Linked DNA regions of Homo sapiens: all the other regions are linked to region 2. The links are contacts of gene promoters, found by promoter capture Hi-C in blood cells and fetal thymus (Javierre and others, 2016). All regions are on one chromosome and are shown on one strand. The core of a region is centred on a gene start or on the middle of the fragment in contact, and the rest is flanking DNA. Distances in the headings are between cores, read along the strand shown.

Evidence for each region. The method cuts DNA at HindIII sites, captures the fragments that hold promoters and counts their contacts. A CHiCAGO score of 5 or more calls a contact.
Region 1: a contact is called between the fragment with the promoter of GPR180 here and the fragment with the promoter of MIR17HG in region 2, in 9 of 17 cell types (non-activated CD4 T cells, naive CD8 T cells, total CD8 T cells and 6 more). The highest score is 30.4, in non-activated CD4 T cells.
Region 3: a contact is called between a fragment that was not itself captured here and the fragment with the promoter of MIR17HG in region 2, in 6 of 17 cell types (naive CD8 T cells, total B cells, total CD4 T cells and 3 more). The highest score is 10.5, in naive CD8 T cells.
Region 4: a fragment that was not itself captured here is called in contact with the fragment with the promoter of MIR17HG in region 2 in 9 of 17 cell types (total B cells, total CD8 T cells, naive CD8 T cells and 6 more); the score reaches 19.5 in total B cells.
Region 5: a fragment that was not itself captured here is called in contact with the fragment with the promoter of MIR17HG in region 2 in 9 of 17 cell types (naive CD8 T cells, total CD4 T cells, non-activated CD4 T cells and 6 more); the score reaches 12.7 in naive CD8 T cells.

What each region holds. Positions count from the first base shown.
Region 1 is chr13:94,599,516-94,603,112 of GRCh38, forward strand. GPR180 (G protein-coupled receptor 180) reads left to right here and starts at 2,342. Exons shown (of 9, transcript NM_180989.6): 1 at 2,342-2,557. The coding sequence starts at 2,413. RefSeq lists an enhancer at 2,080-2,374 and a silencer at 2,153-2,752. The HindIII fragment of the contact is 8,659 bases long and covers 1-3,597 here.
Region 2 is chr13:91,346,003-91,349,607 of GRCh38, forward strand. It overlaps MIR17HG (miR-17-92a-1 cluster host gene), which reads left to right and starts at 1,685. Exons shown (of 3, transcript NR_197388.1): 1 at 1,685-1,957. RefSeq lists enhancers at 1,174-1,253, 2,723-3,270, 3,271-3,605 and silencers at 1,354-2,133, 2,184-3,173. The HindIII fragment of the contact is 6,871 bases long and covers 1-3,605 here.
Region 3 is chr13:94,582,724-94,585,841 of GRCh38, forward strand. TGDS (TDP-glucose 4,6-dehydratase) reads right to left here. Exons shown (of 12, transcript NM_014305.4): 5 at 371-513. Among named protein-coding and RNA genes, the nearest start is that of TGDS, 12 kb to the right of the region's middle. The HindIII fragment of the contact is 9,535 bases long and covers 1-3,118 here.
Region 4 is chr13:94,552,494-94,556,088 of GRCh38, forward strand. It overlaps LOC124903191 (a long non-coding RNA gene), which reads left to right. Exons shown (of 2, transcript XR_007063836.1): 2 at 1-674. Among named protein-coding and RNA genes, the nearest start is that of TRF-GAA1-5, 4.6 kb to the left of the region's middle. The HindIII fragment of the contact is 3,767 bases long and covers 1-3,595 here.
Region 5 is chr13:94,536,601-94,539,966 of GRCh38, forward strand. It overlaps a transcript of DCT not described here. Among named protein-coding and RNA genes, the nearest start is that of TRF-GAA1-5, 11 kb to the right of the region's middle. The HindIII fragment of the contact is 1,831 bases long and covers 361-2,191 here.

The sequences.
Region 1 (3,597 bases), core at 1,092-3,591, 3.3 Mb after region 2:
AACAAAAGAATGAAGCAACGAAAGAACGAAAGCAGGGATTTATTGAAAATGAAAGTACATGGCCGGGCGTGATGGCTCACACCTGTAATCCCAGCACTTTGGGAGGCCAAGGTGGGTGGATCTCTTGAGGTCAGGAGTTCGAGACCAGCCTGGTCGACATAGTGAAACCCCGTCTCTGCTAAAAATCCAAAATTAGCCAGGTGTGGTGGTGTGCACCTGTAATTCCAGCTGGAAGCTGAGGCAGGAGAATCACTTGAACCTGGGAGGCGGAGGTTGCAGTGAGCCGAGATTGTGCCACTGCACTCCAGCCTGAGTGACAGAGTGATACTCTGTCTCAAAAAAAGAAAATGCAACTACACAGCGCAGAAGGGCCTGGACACATAATCATCTTGGGTCCAAATACTCCCTAGAAGTTTCCCATTGGCCACTTGGAGCTCACCTCATATAAATGAAGTGGTGGCCCCCAATAGGTCTGATTCTTGGGGAAAGCAATGAATCAGAGGCTGAAGTGGAGTTACAAAGGTCACACTCCTGTGCAAACATCTGATTGGTTGCAAAAAGCAATGTTACAGAGTTACAAAGTTGCACTTCTATGCAAACGAAGACTCAGCTGGCAATCAGTCTGACTGGGTAGGGACAGCCAATTTCTTATCTGCCTCACAGAAAAGGTGGGGATTTGCAAAGGGCATAGCCTCTGGTCCTTTTGTTACTTAGGGTGGAAAGTTAGGGTTTTCCTTTAATAGTTCTAGAAAGTCGGTGTAAAAACGCCTTAGGTTCCCTCACCCCAGGCCCTATTCTCCTGCCTCACTTTCATTAAGACAGGTATAGCCAGCAAGGTGGCTTACGCCTGTAATCCCAGCACTTTGGGAGGCCAAGGCGGGCAGATCACCTGAGGTCGGGAGTTTGGGACCAGTCTGATCAACATGGAGAAATCCCATCTCTACTAAAAATAAAAAATTAGTCGGGCATGGTGGCGCATGCCTGCAGTCCCAGCTTCTCGGGAGGCTGAGGTGGGATAATCGCTTGAATCCGGGAGGCAGAGGTTGAGGTGAGCCGAGATCGCGCCATTGCACTCCAGTCTGAGCAACAAGAGTGAAACTCCGTCTCAAAAAAAAAAAAAGTGTAGTCACTGACCAGCTGGAGCTGACAATAGAGGCGGAGATTTCAGACACATGAATGGATACTTACAGTACAGTGCGTGAGTGCTCTGGTAGGGAAGTAAGGGATTCTGGTTCCAGGGGCATCTACTACAGACTTAGGGGTTTGAGAAAGGCTTCTTAAAGTGCCTTGGGAAGGAGGAGTAAAGGAGGAAAAGGAAGGTGAGGAGGTCCAGTGTTGGAATAAGCAGAAGTATTCTAGCCAGAGGGATCAGGGAGTGATATAGGCCTAGAAGGGAGAACTTGGGAGTGTTCAGGAAACCAACGGCGGTAAGGATGGAGATGAGAAAAAACAGACATTTGAGAGTTGAAGAGCCATATTCTAGAGTTTGGGTTGTGTGCTAAAGGCAATTGAGAACCTTTCAAGGCAAGTGCAGCAAATTGTTTCCTACAGCTTTCTGTGGCTGTAGGGTAGAGATGGATTGTAGCCAATTAGAATGAAGACTGTAGAGACGGTCTTTGCCATAGGCCAACAAAGTGATGAACTGAGTAGGACTGTGGCCGCTGCTTCCCACCCTCACCAGAAGAAGGGCTAATCCACACTTGTTATTGAATTGATTGAATTGCGGGGGGGGGGGGGCCTACAATTCCCAGCGGTCTGGTCTGCGGGCGGGGGTGGGGGTGGGGGTAATGTAATTCGAGAAGCCAGAGAACCTAGGAGGGAAAAATCGGCTGGAGATGCCAAGAGAAGGCATGCGTTAAATTGTGGTCATGCGGAGCTAAGTGTCTTTGAGACATTAAATCGGACACGTCCTGTAGGTTATACAGGCGCCAAGGAAGAAAATCTGCATAAGAACACAGTTTTTTCTTTGCGGGAGTTTAACTCTCTCGGCCAGAAACAGTCCTGTCCTGCATTTCTTAAGTTTTTTCCGAATCCCACAAGCCCTTCGAAGGCCCCGCGGACTCGTGCCAGCGCGCCCGCGCATGCTCAGTAGCAAGACGTGCTAGGCAATGAGGAGGGAGATGAGTTTTCCGTAACCTGAAGCAACATCCTCCTGATTCCTCATTAAAGAAAAAGGCGGGAACTAGTCAAAAGCCGGGGACTGATGGGACGCTAGGATCTGCGCGTCCCGCCCATTTCGGCCTCTGACTGGTGAATGTCTTCGGCTTATGGCAGAGGAGCCCGCCTCATTGGCTCTCAGGCTCCAGAGCAGCAGGTCTCCGGCGCCCACCCCGCCTCCCCCAGCTGCCGACGTGGGGCGGGCAGCCGCCGGCGGCTGGGAGCCGAGGCGTCGGTGCAGACCTGGAGACGGGCATGGGGGGGCTGCGGCTGCTGGCTGTGGCCCTCACGTGCTGCTGGTGGCCGCAGGGCAGCCAGGGTAAGACCCTGCGGGGCAGCTTCAGCAGCACCGCGGCCCAGGACGCCCAGGGCCAGCGCATCGGCCACTTCGAGTTCCATGGTAGGTCTGGGGGCGGGGAGGGGGATGAAGGCGCGCTGGCCCATCCCGCCGGCTGAGTCCGCCGGCCGCTCCTCCCGGCCCCTCCCTGCCACGTTGGGCGAGGCCGGCGACTTCCCCAGCCTCACCTGGACCTCCAGCGTTGCAGCAGCTGCCGCGAATGGTGGGATGCGTTCCTTGCCAACCCCGCTGGTGCGGCTTTCCAGCCCCAGGCAGCGGCCTCTCGCCACTAGTGATCGTGTTCCGCACCTGAAAGCTGGTTTCCATTTCCCCAACCCTCCCCTTGGAAGCCAATGTGCAAAAGACTGGTCGGCCGCATCTTTCCAGATCCTTCCCGCAAAGAAGCATATTTGCTCCTTCCTGTCTCGGCCACACTGTGACGGGAGAATTTAACCCTAGAAACTTAAATTTCCTTTTTTTTTTTTTTTTTTTTAAAGACCAATTTCCTGAGACCTACTTGCAACAGAGTGGTTTTGGAAACCAAGTAAAACACTTGATAATGTAGTTGTTATATTGAGCAGTTTGGTTACTTGGCTACTAGGGCAGTAGATTTACTATGGGCAGTAAGGCCTAGAATTAAGCTGATGAAAATGCATTTAAGTAGCATCTTGGAAGCTCCCTAATTTGTGTTCTGTGTGGCTCTTCTGAAATCAGAGTTGCGTTTGATTTCAGACCTTTTGGTCTTCCTCAAAAATCAGTAATTATTCCTTCAATAAATGCATTTGCAATTCATTCTAATTTTGGTCTCATTTGCACTCTCACAATTTAAGTGTTTTTCTTGGTACTCTTAATTTGACTAGTGCTGTATTTCAAATAATTATTTGCCTTGATGACATTAGGAACTTTGATTTGTACAGTCTTTAGCATTAAAAGATGCAACGATGAACATCAGAATATTGGCCTAGAAAATATTGTTAGGAGAAGATAATAGAAACGGAACTACTTTGGTGAGAAAAGGAATTTAAAGTATTGGGAAATTACAGAATTGACAGAATAAAGGGAAGGGATCCTGATTTTTTTTTTTTTTGAAGTTTTTAAGATAG
Region 2 (3,605 bases), core at 435-2,934:
AAGTCAGTAGGTTTAAATGAATTTGCGTCTTCCAAAATCCTGATTACCATAAAAAAGGGTATACATTAAGAATTATTTCTTATACTGTAGTCACAGAAAATAGTTGCTTGTATGTCAGATTTCCACAGAAATATAGTGAGATACCTAAAAACAGCTTTTTAAAGCTAGTAGTATTTCAATGTTGACTTTAATTGGAAGGAAACTATGAGATGAATAACTCCTGCTAAGAAACCTGTATATAGGTGGGATTTCCCATGATTCAGAGAGTGTGATGAACAATCTTACTCACAACATCCCCCCGCCTCAACCATTCTAATTTGAAACAGAAGATAAAGTTTTAAAGAAAAAGGCATTGACATATTAGTCAATGCCGACCAAAAGTAACGTAAAATTAGACTTGTAATAAAATTAGCAGTGTTTTCCTCTTTGAAACGTTCATAAATGACTATATTACAGAAATATTAGATATTGTAAAATTTCAGATTTGGCCTTTTATTTTGATTTACAAAGAAAGGAATATCTAGAAACTAGACTCAATAAAAAAAAGAGTAGCAAAACTTTAATCCACTATTTTTTATGTCATCACTAGTTTGACAATTGGATTTAAGCAAAGCATGATAAAATAAGTCAAAGACAGTAAATGACAATACTGTCAAGGTTTGAATGTCAAAAATTTTAACATTGGGGCATTAAAGACATCCTTTGGTAATGTGTGTTTTACAGTTGACTTGTACAATCACGAACCAGTGATATGTGCTTTGCAGTAGCTACTTACTAGATTTAAACCAATTTATAATTGCTGTATTTCTCGTAAATGTTATGAATCCTCACTTTTAACAATTATGTTTCTGAGAATTCCGGAATTTCCTGAACCACAATGTGAAGAAGGAGGTGCTCCTGATTGGGCTTCTTTTCTCAGCTTTGTGGTTGTTTATGAGGTTCTTTCCGAGCTATGCTATTTCTACTGGAGAACCCAGAGTTCTTACTAAATGCAGCTGGGCATGAGAGGGGAGGCTCAGGTACTGCAGCTGTGAAACCTCTGCTCGGGCATGCGTTTTGGTTTACACGCGGCCAGGTTAAGGAAACACATTGCCACGAAGTGTGCATTCACAAGAGTGTCGGGTGTAATGTATTTATTTCTGGGTCTCAAACGATCTTTGCAGCGAGTAATTCTGTTTCGATGTTAAAGTCACTGGATTTTACTTCTCTGGTTCCGGTTGGCCTGGAGCAGGCCCCTAATTACCTCGGAAACCCACCAAGGGCCGGTAAAGTAATAAACTGTGATCGCACAGCGTACACGTCGAGTCCCAGGGAGAGCAGGGCTCCCAGGAAGCCCCGGGAAGCGTGCGCTTCCAGGAGGGTGTGCGGCGCGCGGGGGTCTGCACGCGCGCAGAGCTTGTTAACGGAGGGCGTGCCGGAGGCGTGGCGCGAGGTGTTCGGGCGAGGCGCTCCGCGAGGCTGGCGGCGGTGGGCGGGCCACGGGGGAGCGCGGCCCGGGGAAGGCTGCGCGGCGCCGCCAGCGGCTCCCGGCTCCCGCTCTCCCGGCCGCCAAGAACGAGCCGCCGTGGGCGGGGCCTGCGGTGATTGGCGGGCGGGCGGGGAGGTCGGAAGTACTTTGTTTTTTATGCTAATGAGGGAGTGGGGCTTGTCCGTATTTACGTTGAGGCGGGAGCCGCCGCCCTTCATTCACCCACATGGTCCTTCGAGGTGCCGCCGCCGCCGCCCGACCTGCGCCTTCGCGCCACTTCGCGCCCTCGGGCGAGGCCGAGGGGGTGGGGACGACTACCGCAGCGCCGCCGGGGCTCGCGCTCCTCCGCGAAGCTCTCCTCGCGGGGCGGGCCGGCCGGCCGCACCCCCGGCCTGGGGCCTCCGGTCGTAGTAAAGCGCAGGCGGGCGGGGAGGCGGGAGCAGGAGCCCGCGGCCGGCCAGCCGAAGATGGTGGCGGCTACTCCTCCTGGTGAGTCTGCCCGCCCCTCCGGCGACGGAGGGAAACCTGTTGTGTGCGGCCCGGGTCTGGCGGGCGGGGCGGAGCGGCCCGGGGCGGACTGGCCCGGGGCAGCGTGGCGGCGGCGGCGTGGCCGGGGCGGGTCTCGGCCGTTGGCCGCCCCGGCGTGTGGCAGCCGCATCTGGCTGCCCCCTCGCTCGCCCGCGGGCCGGCGGAGGGGGGCAGGGCCGGGGCGGGAGGGTGGGAGGGGGCGGCGTGCGCGTGGCGGCCGCGCCCGGGACCCGCGCAGACCCTGCCTGGGCCGACCCGAAGGCGGGTGGGCGGACGGCGAACACAATGGCCCCTCGGGGAGAGGACGTGCGAGGCCCGTGCCTTCTCCGGGGCCCGGGGCGCGCGCGGGGCGTGGGGTCTCTGGGTAGGAAAGTTTCTCCCGAGGGCGAGAGTTAAAGCGCCTCCAGAACAAAGCGGCGGCGGCGGCGGCACATGGGGCAGGCCGCGGGCCGGGAGGGGGCGCGCCCACGAGGTACCTGCGCGCCAGCGGGCGGCGTGGCGTGGGCGGGAGCCCGCGGTTCCCCAAACTTTGTACGCGCGAGGGTGGGCGGAGGGGCGCCGAGATCGGCGCGGCCTGGGCGCCACCCCCGCTCCGCGTGGGCTTTGTTAGCCCGCGTGGGCAGCCTCGGGGCGGGGCCCGCAACTTCCCCGCCGTGGCCCTCGGAGGAGGCCGCAGTCGGCCTCAGCCGCGGCGTGGAGCCGCCTGCGCCCGGCCGCTTGCTGGGAGTGTGGCGCGGGAGGGCCAGCCCGGCTCGGCGGGAGCGGCGTCCCCGCCGCCATGTTCCTGCGGGGCGGGCTGCACGGGGGTGAGGGCGGGGGACATGGCGGCGACTGCGCGCCGCCGCCGATTGTTCCCGGCTTAGGCCTCGGGCCGCGTGCGACGGGCACCGCGGCCGCGGAGCCCCCGCCCCTCTGGGCCGGGCTCGGGGGGGCTGGGGGACACAAAGGAGGGGCGGCGCGCCCGCGTCCCCGCCGCACTCGGGCCTCGGCGCCGCCGGTCGCCGCGCGGCTGCCGCCGGGAAACGGGTTGGGGGGGTTGCCGCGTCCGGCGGGGCCTGACTCTGACCCGCCGCCCCCTGGCGGCTACGCGGAGAATCGCAGGGCCGCGCTCCCCCTTGTGCGACATGTGCTGCCGGCCCGGGCTCCATGAGCGTGGCGGGCACTTTGCAGTCTCGGGTGTTCCTGCCCGGTCTTCTGTTCCTAAACTGCAGCAAAGGGAAAAGGAACTGAAAAAGGCAGGCTCGTCGTTGCAATATCACCAAAAGAGAAAATTAACGGCATGCCATCAGGACCACAGCAGTTGGAGAAACAACTCTTTATCCCGGCTTGCAGCCACGAGGTCTTGATTGGGGGAGGGGTGGTGAAGAATAGTCTGTGGGCTGCTTTTTTTTTTTCCTTTTACTGGAGCTGTACAGTGGAGTCGGTGATTGCTGCTGATCATAATCAAGTATTTTAGGAGCTTATTTAGACATGTATCTGATAGCTAAGGATTTTTCAACTTTATTCTCTTACGTATTTTTCAACTGTAAATTATTGGGCTTTTAAATCCTGCTAGTATTGCTCGACTCTTACTCTCACAAATGGATGGAATTAATTGCTGTTAGGAGGT
Region 3 (3,118 bases), core at 277-2,776, 3.2 Mb after region 2:
CAGGCAGAAAAACATGAATAGACTAGACTGGCCTAGCCTCCCAGCCTACATCTTTCTCCCATGCTGGATGCTTCCTGCCCTCGAACATCTGACTCCAAATTCTTCAATTCTGGGACTCAGACTGGCTCTCCTTGCTCCTCAGCTGGCAGATGGCCTATTGTGAGACCTTGTGATCGTGTGAGTTAATACTTAATAAATTCCCCTTTATATATCTATTCTATTAGTTGTGTCCCTCTAGAGAACCCTAATACACTCTGAAGAGTGCCACAAGTGTATATAATTTGAGGATGAAAAAAGCCCAGTGTAGGTTTAATAAAACTGTATCATGGTACATGGTTAAGTAGGTAAAATATACATTTTCTAAGCTCACCTTATCAAGACTGCCACCATATACTTCATCTGTGCTGACATAAATAAACTTCTCCACTCTGGCTTCATGAGCAGCACTTACCAAAACGTGAGTGCCATAAACATTAACATAGGTAAACTCAAAGGCACGTACGAATGAAAGATCTAAAAGAAAAGAGTGAAAAGCTAAAACAAGTCTACCCAACGGATAAAACAAATGCCAAATGATGGACTCAGGTTTAAGGAGAGTACTAGTCACTGTTCTTCATTTACCACAGCTGCAAGAGTTATAATAATAACATACACAGGCAGTCATATTTATGATTTCTTTAAACCTAAATTACATAGTACATGTAAATTCTCAGAACCCAGAAAACTAATGTTAAATTTGCAGGAAAGTTTTTTATTCTATAAGGAAGAAAATTTAAAAATAATACATGAAAATTTAAAATGTTTTTAAATTAAAAAAAATTATGAATTACAGGGATAGGCTTTTTAAGATCAATCTGTTACTGCTGAAAGCAATAAATGCTGAATGAGTTATTTAAACATAAATTCACCTTACAAGAATTGAACCTCTATAACCAGGAAACGGAAGGAACTTCCTTAATGATGAATCACAATCCAGAAGCAATAATGGAAGAGGATGATAAATTTGACCATATAAAAATTTTGCATGGTTAAAAAACTAAAAACAAATTAAAAAGACAAAAATGACAAACTGGGAAAAACCATGTGAAATTACAGAGATAAAGGGTTAGTATCGTCAATTTATAAAGAACTTTAAATAAATTAAGAACAATCCTATAGTAAAACAGGTAGGAGACATAAACAGTTTAGATGAAGAAATATAAATGGGTCCTTAAGATTACGATGATCAATGTCACTTACAGTAAGAAAAACCCAAATTAAAAACTCAGAGATACCACTTCTTACTTACCAGACTGGCAAAAATTCAAAAAGTTGACAAATCACTTAGTTGTTGAGGCTGTTAGGCAAAAGACACTTTGTACACTGACAATGATGATGTAAAATGTTTACAATTCCCTAAGGAAGGAAACTTGGAAATATCTAGTCAAATTACATAGGCATTTCCCTCTAACCCAGAGTTATGGGCTAAACTGTGTTCTCCCCATAATTCATCTTAAGGCCTAACCCCTTCCCCCAGAACCTCAGAATGTGACTATATTTGGAGATAGGGCTCTTAAGGAGGTGATTAAGTGAAAATCAGGTCTTTAGGATGGGTCCTAATCCGATCTACCTGGTGTCCTTAAAAGAAGAAATGTGGACTCACTGTGTGTTTTGGAATAAAGTAAATGAGTAATTAGGATGGTGCTGTTGAGAACCAAGGTGTTCAGGGTATGGAAAAGATGATATAAATGAAAGACTGAAGAACTTAAACAAAAAATCTCAATGCGGATTGGACATTTCAGTATAAACCCATGTCATATTTAATCTTAAGTAAATAGGCAAATAATATTCCCTAGTTTTGTTAACTGAAAAAGCCTTGACACAATGTCCAATCAGTTAATAAGCACTCCCAGTGCCCAGACTGTGGCCTCTAAACACCATTTCCCACCAAAAGGAACAATGGCTCCTGACAGAAAGGGCTGATTCCAGATCTAGGGGGAAAAACATTGAAGATAAAACTGAAACATCCTATCAAACCAGAAAGTTAGATGGTTGTCAAAGACTGCTAAGGTCATGTCAAAAAGGACTCAGGAAGCAACTAGAAGAGCCTCTCAATGGCTAATGGTGAGTCATTTTGAACATAAATAAGAAAAATAACTGCAAATGATTAAAACAAACAAAATCAAATGTGTTAAAATCTACAAATTCATAGCAATATTAAGAAAAAAGAAAAATGAGGATGCTTGGAAACCAACTCATTATAGTAAAATCTACTAAATAAATAAAAATAATCAGGCACTTAACCTGGCTTTTCCATAACAATTAAATCTCAAGGTAACCAAATAATGTATAAGGAAAACTTTTTTTTTTTCTCTCTCTCTCTGTTGCCCAGGCTGGAGTGTAGTGGCGCAATCTCAGTTCACTGCCACCTCTGCCTCCCAGATTCAAGCCATTCTTGTGTCTCAGCCTCCCGAGTAGCTGGGGTTACAGGTGCCCACTACCACGCCCAGCTAACTTTTTTGTATTTTAGAGATGGGGTTTCACCATGTTGGCGAGGCTGGTCTTGAACGCCTGACCTCAGGTGATCCACCTACCTCAGCCTCCCAAAGTGTTGGGATTACAGGCGTGAGCCACTGCGCCTGGCTGGAAAACTTCTTTTTATGTAGATATTCCAGGTATAAATGAAGAATGACATAATTAGGATATCATTTTGTAAACCCCTAATATAATGACTACTGACTATATAAAATAGTAATAATGTCATCTAGTGGAAATAAAAAAACAAAATAAAATAAGATCAATTTAAAATTCCAGGCAGGACATGGTGGCTAATGCCCGTAATCCCAGCACTTTGGGAGGCCCAGGTGGGTGGATCACCTGAGGTCAGGAGTTTGAGACTAGTATGGCCAACATGGCAAAACCCCGTCTCTACTCAAAATACAAAAAAATAAACCGGGCGTGGTGGCACACGCCTGTAATCCCAGCTACTTGGTAGGCTGAAGCACGAGAACTGCTTGAACCTGGGAGGCAGAGGTTGCAGTAAGCCGAGATCACAACACTGCACTCTGGCCTAGGTGACAGAACAAGACTCTGTCTCAAAAAAAAAAAAAAAAAAATCCAGATAAAAACTGAGTTAAAA
Region 4 (3,595 bases), core at 561-3,060, 3.2 Mb after region 2:
GGGAGTCTCTGAGCCTACTCTGGCTTGGGAGGCTGCCCTTGAAAAAAAAAAAAAGAATGAAATAAAAGTGTAACTTTTCTTTCAATTTATATGTATAATTTTTTTCAAGTGGCTACGAAGTTGTTGGACATAAATCCTTATTAAGTTATTTGGACCTGAGTACTTAATAAAAGGAATTGTTCGGCATTTCTTTTGGCCTGGGGGCATTGGAAAAAATTACTGAGACAGTAAGAGCTGCCTGTGAACAGAGAAAGCGAAAAACAATTATTATGAGTTTGGGAAAAACCTTGCTTTACTCAGCAAGATTGCAGCGCAAAGAAGAACTGTCAGAACATCCAAGGAGACCAAGCGCCACAGGCTAAATAAAGTGAAGTGAAAATCTGTGCACACACATCATAGTAAGAAGAGACAGGTGATAAAGAAGTTGGCATTCAAAATGAGGATAAAGATGTTGAAGAAGACTCTGTGTTGGAAAGAAACTGTGTAAGCTGCAGTCCTGTTTTCCAAATGAGCTCGCGGATTTTGGCCAACTCCAGTCTAATTACCTATGATTAAAAAAACCAGCTAATTACGAGAACTAACTAGCAGATCTGAGAATAATAAAACTGAAGAGAGTATGTTGCATATAGTTATAACAGCTAATAAATTTTTGTGGGTTTTTTTGTTTGTTTTGAGATGGGAGTCTTGCTCCATTTATTGCCCAGGCTGGTCTCGAACTCCTGGGCTCAAGGGATCTTCCCAGGTAGCTGGGATTACAGACACACACAACTGTGCCCCACTTCTGATAAAAATTTAAATGGCTGTTAATTAATCTCTCCTTCAGTTTGCTCCTTGGGATTCTGCAGTGCACATGCATACACACACACACACATGCACACACACACACACATTTTTGGGGGCCTCTGATTTTAATCAATATTTCTTTAAAGTATTTTAAAAATGATGGGGGTATGTCAAAAGGACCTAGGAACCAGTTTGAAGGGGCTCCTACTGGCCAAAACTGGGACAATCTGAGCATCAAAATAAATAAGAATATTAATGGATTATTTACCCTTTGAATAAAATAAAAGTCCTTTAGTACAATAATTGTGTGGTGGATGCAGGGGAGGAATTGAGGATTCTTATAGCTGAATGAAGTGTGCAGACTGACAAATTTGGAGGTAGTGGTAGCACGGGATATCACCATTTTCCAAACATCATAGTAAAGATTGATTCAGTCAAGAATCATCAATGGATGTTAAGTCTAAGGGGGGACAGTTAAACGAGGAGCAGGATCATTGCATGGCCTCAAAGTATTTCTCCACAGATTGCTTAAACTGCACAGTGGAGAAAACGGACAATGCCATGATCCGGTCATCAAAATTAGCATCACCAATGTAGGACATTCGGTCATCACATGCCTTCTATTGTGATGCCCTGTAAAAGACACAACACACACAGTGCTCCAGGCAGGGAAGCAGAACCTAACTTTAATCATGGAGCAGCATTATACAAACCCCAAGTAAAGGTCATCCTAGTAAATAAATGGCCTGTATTATTCAAAACTGTTAAGGTCACGAAAGCAAAGAAAAGCTGAGGAACTGTTCCATATGCAAGGAGGTGAAAGAAACACAACTCAGTGCAATGTGTAATCCCAGACTGGTTCCTATTCTGGAGGAGAAAATGCTTTAAAGGGTGCTATTGGGACAACTAATGAAATTGGAACATGAGCTGCAGATTAGATGAGTGTGTTTTATCAGTGCTAAATTTCCTGAAGTTGGCAACCATAGTTAGGTAAGAAATATCCTTGTTTCAGGAAGTACATACTGAACTATTAAGGGATGAGAGACAATCCACTCTCAAATAGATTCTGAAAATAAATAATAGTATGCATACATATTATTATATATGTAAACATATACACACATGCATGTGTATATATGAAGATAATATTAAAAAATAGAAACAAATATTAAAATTTGGCGTATCTGAGTAAAAGGTATATGGAATTCTTCTGTATCATTTTATAACTTTTCTAAAAATTTGAAACTCAGACCAAGCATGGTGACTCACACCTATAATCCTAACATTTTGGGAGGCCGAGACCAGAGGATCGTTTGAGCCAAGGAGTTTGAGGCCAGACTGGGCAACAATAGGGAAACTCTGTCTCTACAAAAAAAAAAAAAAACAAATTAGGCCGGGGGAGGTGGCTCAGGCCTGTAATCCCAGAACTTTGGGAGACCAAGGCAGGTGGGTCACATGAGGTCAGGAGTTCAAGACCAACCTGGCCAACATGGTGAAACCCCATCTCTACTAAAAATACAAAAATTAGGCAGGTATGGTGGCGTGGCACCTGTAATCTCAGCTACTCATGAGGCTGAGGCAAAAGAATCGCTTGAACCCAGGAGGCAGAGGTTGCAGTGAGCTGAGATCACGCCACTGCATTCCAGCCTGGGGAACAGAGACTCTGTCTTAAAAAAAAAAATTAAAAAATTAGACAGGTGTGGTGGTACACACTTGTGGTCCTAGCTACTTGACTTGAATGGCTAAGGCAGGAGAATCGCTTGAGCCTGGGAGGGAGAAGCTACAGTGAGCTGTGATCATGCCATGCACTCCAGCCTGTGTAACACAGTGAGACCCTGTCAAAAAAAAAAAAAAATACCCTCAGATTTGTTTTTAAAATAAAAAAAATAAATAAATAATGTTTGGCGGTCTTCTTGAGCCAAGACAATTTCAGTTAGAATCATACTATAGCTAAGAGCTGGAAGAGAATTTAGCATTTATTTCGCCTGACCACAAATTTTACGCTAATGCTCCGGAGACACTAATAAGTAACTTGCTTGAGATTACCGTATCAGTCTTCTCGGGCTGCCATAACAAAATACCGTAGACTGGGTGACTTAAACAACAGAAATTTATTTTTTCACATTTTGGAAGCTGGGAAGTCCAAGATCAAGGCTTTGGAGGATTGGGTTCCTGGTGAGGGCTCTCTTCCTGGCTTGCCGAGGCCACCCTCTCTGTGTGCCCACATGACCTTTCCTCCGTGTGTGTATGCGTGTGGAGAGAGAAGGCTTCCACATCTCACAAGGCCATCAGTCCTATCAGATTAGAAACCCACGCTTACAACCTCTTTAGCCTTCATTACCTCCCAAAAACGCTACATCCAAATACAGTCACATCGGGGTTAGGGTGTCAACATATTAATTTTGGGGGGACATATTTTTTAGTCCACAGCAATTACACAAACTGATACAGCGCTGACTGCTGACCCATAGAGCATATTCCTTACCTTGCACCAAATACTCTTAATATTTTTCATAAAGACTGTTTCAATGAAAAATTGGCATGAGAATAAAAAACCCAAACTTGAATCTAGGGCTAGGGCCCAGTTTTCTCCTGCAGATGCTTTTTTATGGGCATGTATATGCTTTTTGAACGAAGTTGCTTGATGGATACAAAGCGATTCCTCCAAAGTTATATATTAAAGTTGTAACTTAGGGGAGAAGTATTTAAAAAAATTAATAGCTTGCAAAGATCATCAGTGTGCTGAATTGATCCAAAAGAAGTTAATTTATTTAAAGCCATTAAACCACAAGTCCATAAAGACCTTATTGTT
Region 5 (3,366 bases), core at 26-2,525, 3.2 Mb after region 2:
TCTCCCGCTATGTGACACATCTGCCTCTGTGTCACCCTCTGCCATGAATAAAAGCTTCCTGGCTGGGCACGGTGGCTCACGCTTGTAATCCCAGCACTTTGGGAGGCCGAGATGGGTAGATCACCTGAGGCCAGGAGTTCGAGACCAGCCTGGCCAACATGGTGAAACCCCTTCTCTATTAAAAATACAAAAATTAGCGGAGGTGTAGTGGTGGGAGCTTGTAATCCCAGCTACTCTGAAGACTGAGGCAGGAGAATTGCTTGAACCCAGGAGGCAGAGGTTGCAGTGAGCCAAGATTGCGCCACTGCACTCCAACCTGGGCAACAGAGAGAGACTCCACCTCAAAAGCAAAAACAAAAAAGCTTCCTGACACTTCACCAGAAGCTGAGCAGGTGTGGGTGCCATGTTTGCCCAGCCTGCAGAACCATGAACCAAATAAATCTATTTTCTTTATAAATTTCCCAGTGTCACGTGTTCCTTTATAGCAATGCAAAACAAGCTAACACACCTGGTAACCCTGTAAGAATAATTGAATTGGTAATTGGCGGATCAAGTAAAATGTTTCCATTATTAGGACATGTATCTATTTGTGCCAGACTGTTAGTTTCTTTAAATTTCTCTGAACACAAAATCTTTAGTTCTCAATCTCAGTTACATCTGAAAGGTTTCCCAAATCTCATTTCTCTAGAAAGTTCTTCAAACCTTCCATTTAAAAATAGCAGTCAGAACATCTAGTAACTTGAAAGATGGGGAGAATGCTGTTGTTGCTAAGACATTTTTTGAATGTCAACCATGTAATGTGTGACTATGATCCTGGTTCATAGGATTACAACCTAAATTAACCCAAGTTAGTGTCCTGGCAGATGGCCGTTCCTAAACTGCCTAAACTTGTCTCTGTCTCTGTTAGATTAAGACAATCCCATGATCTTTTTGAAGTACTAACAAAGACTTACAGCTTCCTGCTCTCCTGTGCTGCCATGTTGAAGAAGATGTAGAGCCTTTTTTATTGCTTTCTACAAATTATGCAAGTGAGAAAAAAAAACAAATAAAAACGAAAACACTGAAAATCATCCATAACCTTAAATTAACCATACAACCTTTTTAGTCCTGAAATAGTTGCTTACTGTTAAGTCAATAGATGTAAACAAGCAATTCTTGAGAACCTAAAATGTTTCTGGCACTTGGCTAGGTGACATAAGATGTGGAAAAGGAATAAGAACGTCAGTGTAGGCTCTCAGAAGAGTTGATTCTCATGTTAGGAAATATAATAAAAACAAGTACAGCCAAGGATTATGATGCAGTGGTGACCCACCATTGGCAGGATGAAAAAAGAGGAGAAGTACTCTTACTCATTCAACAAAAATGCATTGAGCACCTACTATGAGTTTTCTGCTAGTCATGTGAATCCTGACCTTAAGGAGATAATAGCAGCCAGTCAGAAAATCAGACCAATAAAATACACAACCAGAAGATGATATCCAGGTTATTGTGTGGATAAGGTATAGGGAGTACAGGATGGAAGAAACAGCTAAGTTTTCTCGGGCAGCCAAGATGAGATGTTGCGGAAAGTGACTCCTGAAAGAAGGGTGGAGCTTGTAGAGAGTGCTTACTGAGCCTGCAGGACCTGCCTGACTACATGCCAAGCACTCTTCATGGATTATCTTATTTAATTCTCACACTAGCCCTATAAAATAAGGATTTTTATTTTTCTCCATTTTACAGACAGGGAGACTGAAACAAAGAAGAGTTACGGAACTTCTGGATATTACACAGGCAGGGGGTGAGCCTGGAGCTCTGGCCCAGGCAGCCTGCCTCCAGAGGCTGTGCTTCCCACCACCCCTCCCCGCCAAGCCATATGTATACACATAGCCCCAATACCTTGGTATTAGCCTTCTCCCCTGCCTCCTTTTATACCACATCTCCCCCTCTTCTTCATCTATTGTAGTGAGAAAAGCAGATGGACTTGGTGCATTATCCGTCTTTGCTACAATGTAAGAATTCAAGGGTATAAACCATAGACCGTTGTGTTGAGCCCTGAACTTGGATTTTTCAGCCAGGTTCGTTCAGGTTATGGGCTGTCCACTGCCCATCACAAATACAACTGAGACCTCAGATTGAAAAAGAATGAAGTTGCATTCAGTCTCTCTTGTTGCAGTTTCTCTCTTTACCTGGGATGAAGATCATTTTCAGAAGCTTCCCCATCCTAACATGTTAGATAAACTGTCTAAGCTACTCAGCTGCTTCTCCTCCCTCACTCTTAGGATTTGTCTGTTTCTATCTGTGCGGTTTGGCTCTCCCTGTTGTCCTTACCCTTTTCCTTTTGTTCTAAGAGCCCAGCACTACTCTAGCTTCTAGGGGTTATCAGCCCACACCCCTCCAGCTATTCCAGGTCACACAACATCTTTCAGTCCCGACCACCACCAGGCGACACATTAACACCTGCATTTCCAAAGAACTCCAATAGACTTTTTATGACTTTTCACAAAATTCTTAGTCCCCTGCTTTGTTACTAGAACATGAAAATTCTTCCTGAAATCAAACCCACCTTTTGAGGGGCAGTAGAATTTTGCTATGAGGAAGAAAGCACACATTCAACACAGAGAATGAAAGTTGGGACAGGATCACATGCCCAGAGCATAGCAGACGGCAAGCTCTCAGGATGGTCAGAGTGGGAAGAGCTGGATATTAGCTTAAACTATGGAAAACTTTTCATGAAGAGGAAAAACCTGAGAGAACTTGAAAGGTAAGTAGGAATTAAGGTGACGCTAAAGGAATAAGATATGAAATAAACAGGCATCTGAGTGCATTTCTCTATGAGCAATTTACCAACCTATTATTAGAAAATGCTTAAAAGAGGAATGTTTCTTCTGTGTTACTGTACACCTGGATTTCATTCCTGCATACTCAAAGCTAAACCTGCGCAACAAATCAGCTCTTCCTTTTGTAAAAGAAATAAAACCAAATTTTTATGGTTTTATTTATTTTACAAATGACAAAATTATTGTTTGTAAAATAATTGTTCCTGGGATAAGAGATCAGACTATTCAAATAGAGATATAATTTATGGATTTAAAATTAAATTCCTTTCCAACATTATCTTTAGAATTTGAATCAATTAGGGAACATAAACATGATTGCTATTGGGTGAGACTGCCTCTGAATACAAAAATATGGTTTGAAAGCTCAGCTCAGGTTTAGAATCGGTGAGAAAAAAAAAGGGAGAAAGGAAAAGTATGGTGTTGTCAGCATTCAAAGGAGAAGTAATGTGCATCTTTAGATAAAAGCTTTACAATGGTGTGCATAATAATGATACTGTTTGTTTTAAATGTGATATATATATATAGAAATGTGTACATAGACATACAA